Linked DNA regions of Homo sapiens: region 1 is linked to region 2. The links are contacts of gene promoters, found by promoter capture Hi-C in blood cells and fetal thymus (Javierre and others, 2016). All regions are on one chromosome and are shown on one strand. Each heading gives the region's core, a stretch centred on a gene start or on the middle of the fragment in contact. The rest is flanking DNA. Distances are from core to core; before and after follow the strand shown. Region 1 holds the start of PDIA6 (protein disulfide isomerase family A member 6). Region 2 holds the start of SMC6 (structural maintenance of chromosomes 6).

Region 1 (3,552 bases), core at 985-3,484, 6.9 Mb after region 2:
CGGTCCAGAGCAGCCAGTGACCTGGGATATTTAGCAGGGAGTTATGATCTGGCCTCTGTTTTCTCCACGAGGATCAGCCCTGAGGCCAACTGGGACAGAGACCACACAGCACACAAAGGGCACTGGCAGTGTGGGCCACCGCAGTTCGAGGGTTCTGTTCCAAGCAGGATTGCTACCCAAACACAGCAGGCCTGGAGAGGCTGCGATCAACTCACAACCCTGAGAAAACAAACTCGATCGTGAGTGCGTTGTGGAAGCTGTGATGTCTGTGGCCCATGGGGACAAAGTTAACTGTCTTAATGTAAAGACAAATGAAGGGGCCCTCTTCTGGTAAGAGAATTAAATTCCTCCATCCAGGGAGGAAAAGCATGACTTTCCAGGCTGAGAGGAAAAGGAAGGACTTCGCTGTAATCCAGTCAGCAACAGCAGCAAATTTAAGGGGGGAAATGTGTCAAATGCAGGAAAGGGGTCAGAAAAACAAACAGCATTCATTGCCCCTCAGGCGCCCTTCAGGGAAAGCAGACAGGCCTGGAGGAACAGGCTCGCAGTCCACTGCCCTTTGCTGTGAATCCCAAACAGCCCTGCGATCACCGGTTGGGCTTCCCACGCACCTTCACATTCAGGAGGAGCTGCCCGGGGTACCAAGCTGAGGATTTCTGTCCCGGGACAAGCAGCCTCCCTGGGGAAAATCAATGCTGGCATGTGGCTTCCAGGAGAGGCCCCCGTGACTTCAGAGGGCTGCTGTGCCTCTGAGTTCAGTTTGCCTGAAAAATCTTCCAAACGCAGCTCTAGTGCCACTTCCTCCAGGAAGCCCACCAGCCGGCCCCCACCACTCCTGGACCCCTGCCTAAGAATACTTATGCCTTACACACTACAATATGGAGAAATTACTAATACAAAAACAAAATGTCCGAGTCCACTCCAAACATAGGAGGGAGAATCAAGGCGGAAAGATACAGTGGTCTTAACTTGTGCTTGAAAGATTTTACTTTTAGGTCGGGCGTGGTGGCTCACAACTGTAATCCTAGCATTTTGGGAGGCCGAAGCAGGCGGATCACCTGAGGTCGGGAGTTCGAGACCAGCCTGGCCAATATGGAGAAACCCTGTCTCTGCTAAAAATACAAAAATTAGCCGGGCGTGGTGACATGCACCTGTCATCCCAGCTTCTCGGGAAGCTGAGGCAAGAGAAACCCTGTCTCTGCTAAAAATACAAAAATTAGCCGGGCGTGGTGACATGCACCTGTCATCCCAGCTTCTCGGGAAGCTGAGGCAAGAGAATCGCTTGAACCCGGGAGGCAGAGGTTGCAGTGAGCCAAGACCCCGCCTTTGCACTCCAGCCTGGGCAACAAGGGCAAAACTCCATCTCAAAAAAAAGCAAAAAAATTTTTACTTTTGCCGGGCGTGGTGGCCCATGCCTGTGATCCCAGCACTTTGGGAGGCCGAGGCAGGAGGCTCACTGCAGCCCAGGAGTTCAAGGCTGCAGTGAACTGTATCATGCCACTGCTCGCCAGCCTGCCCCACAAACATATTTTTTTTCACTTTTGCATATTTTACAAAGCACACACCCACGTGAGCGCATTGCCAGCCCCCTCGCCCCCCAGGACAAAGTGGAGACCCTGTCAGCGAGGAGGCTACCGCTTAAGTCCCTGGGGTTCTCCAGAGAAGGAGGAGAAGGCTCTGCAGAGCCATGCGCCCTGGACGGAAGAACTTTCAAAAGTAATTCAACAAAATAGAAACTTGTCGAATTACATTGCAGACAGCGCGTGCGGAGCAAATGTGTGTCCACGGAATATTCGTCGGGCACAAGAGGAATTCCCTGTCAGCTCCCAGGACCGTGGGTGCCCTGAGGCCGAGTCACGCTCCCCCGGGATAAAGAGGGTGGGGGCGCACACAGGCAAGGAGGAGGCGGGGTGGGGGGGTGCAGAATAAGGAACTAAGGTAAAAACGCCCAGTACTGGACTCCCCTCCGAGCAGCACCCCGAGAGGGCCCGGAGGAGCTGAGGCGGTGCGAGCCGAGACTGCCAGCCCCGCCCCCAGCAGGCCCCGCCTTCCGCTGCTCGCCACCGCCCCCGTGAAAAAAAACCAAACCGGTAACCTCTACCCGGCCGCCTCCCATTGGATATGTGAGTGAGCGATGTCCGCCCGGACCAATGAGCCGCAGCCACGGCTTGGCGAGCGCCTTCCGGCCCGCCCCCGCGCGGCCGCCCCTCGGACCACCGGACTGGCCTGGGGCGGGACGTGGGCGCGGGGGCGCGGCGTGCGGCACGCTGCAGGGCTGAAGCGGCGGCGGCGGTGGGGACTGCACGTAGCCCGGCGCTCGGCATGGCTCTCCTGGTGCTCGGTAGGTGCGGGCCAGCGGAGGGAGGCGGGCGAGCTGGGGTCGGCCTGAAAGGTTTCGAATCTCTAGGCCGTTCCCCGGCGGGCCGCGGCCGCAGGCGGCCGGAAGTGGGCCTGGCGGGCGGGAGGCGCGGGCCTCGGCGTCCGGAGGAGCTGCTAGGTTGCCCCGGCGGAGGTGCGGGTGCGCGGGAGACTCGGGCGCCCGTGGGGAGGGGCTTCCGCAGCCGCGGGGGGCGGGAGCCTCGTGCGCTGGAGCCGGGCGCGGGGTCCAGGGCCGGGCGGGAGAGCCGCGGAGCCCAGCCCCGGCCGGATCCCGGGGAGGGGGTCTGTATTCCCGGAGAGTCGCAGGGGAGCTTGTTCCGGGCTCTTCTCGAACTCGTGCGTGGGGACGGAGGTTGGCGGGCGTCCTGCACTGCTGCTTGTTTCTGCCACCTGCTTTATGCAGCTCCTACTTTTAAAAACTGAAATGTTAAGCCGGGCGCGGTGGCTCACACCTGTAATCCCAGCACTTTGGAAGGCCGAAGCGGGTGGATCATCTGAGGTCAGGAGTTCGAGACCAGCCTGACCAACATGGCGAAACCCCGTCTCTACTAAAAATACAAAATTAGTCGGGCGTGGTGTCGCGCGCCAGTGATCCCAGCTACTCAGAAGGCTGAGGCAGGAGAATCTCCTGAACCCCCAGGAGGCGGAGGTTGCAGTGAGCCGAGATCGCGCCACTCCAGCCTGGGCAACAAGAGTGAAACTCTGTCTCAGAAACGAAAAACTGAAATGTTAAATCTCAGTCCTGAAATAAGGACCCATAGTTCCCTTAGAAAGGGACAGTGCCTTCCAAAAGCTGGGCTTAAGACGCAGGGGCGCTTCGCATGTGATCGGACTCCTTAAAAACGAAATGGAACGCGGCGTCTTAGGAATTCTGTAAATGTCTGCTTCTTAGTGGGCGAGGCCGAGGGTCCTGTCCTTGCCGGGCTCGCCTTGGTCACAGCCTTGGCTCTGACAGTCCTTAACCTCGGCTCTGGCCTCAGACCACCTTCCCCCTATTTACTGGCTCTGTGACTTGGAGCAAGTTACTTAACCACTCTGTGCCAGTGCCTTTTCAACGGTGTTCACCATTTTAGGGACTGATAATAGTACTCCCTTAGGGTTGTCCTGAGGATTAATGAGTTAGTACATGTCTTTCTGTTTTTTGAGACACGGTCTTGCTCTGTCTCCTAGGCT
Region 2 (3,390 bases), core at 531-3,030:
ATGCAAGATTATATTTTAAGGGATTTACCACATAATCTCAGTAACTAATGCTGTTCTTTAAAATTATTTTTTCAATTTTATTTTCATATGAATTTAGCCTAAACGTTGAGGCATACTTCACGTTTATCAATAAATACTTATTAAATGTCTACTATTTAACAGGAAAGCTTTATAGGTGCTGGAGATACAATAATGGAAGATCAAGCCCTGCATTTAAAGACCTTAGTAGGGTAAGTGAGACTGCAGATAAAAAGGGCTTAAGAGGTAAGAAAGCAAGCTATAGTTGTATTTAGGAAAAAAGGTCCCCCACTTAGGAATCAAGGAACGGTTCCTGAAGCAAGTGACATGTAAGTAGGGACCTCCCAACCGTGTTTCCCATTGGTTACAACAAGGCCAGATGTTTTGGTCTATTTTGACTATGTCATATTTTTCGTTGATCCATGGCAAGGGCCACAGTAGGAATATAATATATATGTGATTACTTTTAGAAATAAAAAGTGACTTTGATGTAAAGAATTCCATTACCGGAGGCCAGAATTTCAACATCAATTTATTTGGAGGTGGAGTGAGGTGGCAGTCAATGCATTATTTTCCCCACACAGAAGAGAAGATTTTGGAGTATGAAAAGTAGGTTACTTGTTAGGTCAGCATATTCATGGGAAGGGTTGTGTAAAGACTGAAGCGGGAGTGTGGGGTTGAGAAGGGCGCTGAAACCTAAGCCAAGGAAGTTAAGACTTCATTACTTCTGACGTTTATTTAGGGGGTTTACACTCTAGGTTACCGTGGGGGAAAGACTGATTGTAAATAACTACAATACCTTAAAGTAATTACTATAACAGAACTATATCCGAAATACAAGGTTAACACGGAAAAGGGAACACCCAACTGTGCCTATGGGGACCAGGGAGGGCTCTCCCGGGATGGCTTTGAGCGAGGCGTGGGAATTATCCCCATCGCATGCCCGGGGGAAGCACAGCGGGACCCAGCAGCTTCGGCCAAGCGCAAGCGGCCGGAGAACGCGCAGCTTTCCCGAGGCGGGGTGACGCAGGGCCCTCGCGAGTGGAAAACAGGGGCCAAGTCGCGGCCTGGCGGCTCGGTTCGGACTTCCTACTTTATTCAAAGGGAGTCATTGAAGGCGTTTTCGGAGGAGCAGCGAACAAAGAGCTCGTCCGTAAGCCAGATGGTCAAAGGAATCAGTGGGAGGACCCGGGCGGCGCCGTCTCTCCACGTCCCGCGGGACTTACCCGGACAACCCTTCCTCCTTGGCTCTGGAAGAAGCCCCTTCGTCATTTACCAGTTTGGCCTGAATCCTAACTACTGTGCCTCCAAATTTCTGAATTTTCTCAAAAGGAAAAAAAAAAAGGAAAGTCCTCTTTCTTTACCCAAGCAAAGACTAGCTCCCCGGGCTCAACCGCCAGGCCCAGGAGCACCAGGAAGCGTTTCGAATCCAGCGCCGGGCCCGCGCGGCCCCGCCTCTTCCGGGAAGTGACTGACCCCTTTCCCCCAATGGGGCCCGCTCGGCTTTCCCTTGCCGGCTCCCAGCCGGCCTAGCGGACGCATGCGTAGACCAGCTGCCGGGGGCGCTCAATTATCTTTCCCTTTTACTTAGGCAAATCACTCACCTCCCCCGAGTCCGGTCACTGCGGAGCCGCCCGTGCCTACCAGCTTCCCCCACCCGCTAAGGGGCACTTCCGGCCTCTCAGACTCCGGCGGCGCGAAACCCCGCAACTGCGCAGGCGCGGGCGGAGCCCGAAGGGAGGGAGGGCGGGGCGCAGGCGCGGTTAGTACCGCGGTGGGCGCCGGGGCTCCCGGGAATCTACCTTCTCCTGCGGCCGGCACGCGGTTCCCAGGGGGCCAGCGGCGGTCAGCCGAGGTCGAGACGCCCGCAGGGTGGCCTTAGCGGCCGGTCGTACCACGGCAGCCCCGCCGATCAGGTTCCTTTGGGAGACTTCGACTTGTTGGCGGTAGGGTGAAGGCGCGCGCTGTCGCTTTCCCTTGCTCCGGGGTTCATCCTCCGCCCGCTGCCCCCTTGGCTGGCGACCCCCAGCCACCCGGGAGAGGCAGGGTCAGCTGAGCTGCGGCGGTGTTCATGGTCGTCCTTGCGGGCCCGGGCGGGAGATGTCCGTTCCTCGGGCGGGTCGGGCGGCCGGCGGCACCTTCGCGCGCTCTCCGAGGCGGCACCGGTCTCCTGAGCCGCGGGAAACCTGGCGTCTGCTCCGGGCCGTCCCCTCCCAGGCGGCCGTCCCCTCCCAGGCGGCCGTCCCCAGACTCTCCCGGGCTGTGGCGAATAACTGTAAAGCGGGGAGAGGTCTGGGGAAAGCTGGGGTAGGGAGTGGCTCTTAGCATGAGTCTGATGATATCTCGCAGGCGGCAACTGGTGTGTTTAAAGGGTGTATGCAAAGATCACTGAAATCGGATTTGTCATTAAAGCCCAGTTTTACGAAAATGCAAATTGTATTACCTAGAAAAATTAACATGTGTTCAAAGGTTTACTGATGGCATTTCTCTGCCCTCATTTCTTACAGAAATGAACCGGAGAAGAATCCCAATTGGGAATTGCGGAAAACAGGACTCTAGGGTAGAGAAAGGTTGTAGAACCAATAGGGTTTGAGGTAATACTGTGAAAATTCTTAGAGCAATCATTTGGTGTTTGAGCCCTCAAGACAGAAGTTTTGTGAGCGCTTATTACTCTGCATATGTCACGAGTAGTAGATTAAAAGCCAGTGTTTTAAAGGCAAACTTCTCAGTAATATATATTCAAAGGAAAAAAGAAAAACCCAAATCTCCTGACTTTTATATGGTTGCAGTGTGATCTTTTAACATGTACAATAGTATATACAGTGGCATGCAGTTTGTTCCATGGGTGTGTGGGTAGAGAGGGAACATATTAGAACTTCTATTTAGATTTATTTCATTTGATTTCTACGTGAAACATAGGGTATTAATTTTATGTTGGAACATGTATTTCAAATTTCTTTTGCTTAATGGGTGCAAGTACAAAACGTTTGGAGGCCACTAGTATATTGCCTAAAAGCGTGTATTTATATCACAAAAAGCCAGAATTGTGTGACTCTGAGCAGGTTGGTACCACCTCTTTAAGTTTCAGTTCTTCTTATGCAAGTTGGAAGAAATAATACAGTTATCAGTGCATCCTCTGTATCCGTGGACTCAATCAAGGGACTGAAAATATTTCAGAGGAAAAAAAGTGGATGGTTGCACAGACTTTTTTTTGTTCTTGTCATTATTCCCTAAACAGTACAGTATAACAACTATTCACATAGCATTTGCATTGTGTTAGGTTATATAAGTAATCTAGAGATAACTTTTAAGTATGTGGGGAGGTTATATGCAAATATGACACCATTTCATATAAGGGACTTGAGCATCTGT

What was found. Contacts are between HindIII fragments. The CHiCAGO score rates a contact against its expected background, and 5 or more counts as called.
Region 1: the fragment with the promoter of PDIA6 here is called in contact with the fragment with the promoter of SMC6 in region 2 in 1 of 17 cell types (neutrophils); the score reaches 5.2 in neutrophils.

The regions. Positions count from the first base shown.
Region 1 is chr2:10,811,467-10,815,018 of GRCh38, reverse strand. It overlaps PDIA6 (protein disulfide isomerase family A member 6), which reads left to right and starts at 2,234. Exons shown (of 13, transcript NM_005742.4): 1 at 2,234-2,341. The coding sequence starts at 2,323. RefSeq lists a silencer at 1,932-2,681 and an enhancer at 3,172-3,231. The HindIII fragment of the contact is 7,767 bases long and covers 1-3,552 here.
Region 2 is chr2:17,752,200-17,755,589 of GRCh38, reverse strand. It overlaps SMC6 (structural maintenance of chromosomes 6), which reads left to right and starts at 1,780. Exons shown (of 28, transcript NM_001142286.2): 1 at 1,780-1,964; 2 at 2,526-2,612. GEN1 (GEN1 Holliday junction 5' flap endonuclease) reads right to left here and starts at 1,452. Exons shown (of 14, transcript NM_001130009.3): 1 at 1,245-1,452. RefSeq lists silencers at 1,665-1,804, 1,945-2,304. The HindIII fragment of the contact is 9,742 bases long and covers 170-3,390 here.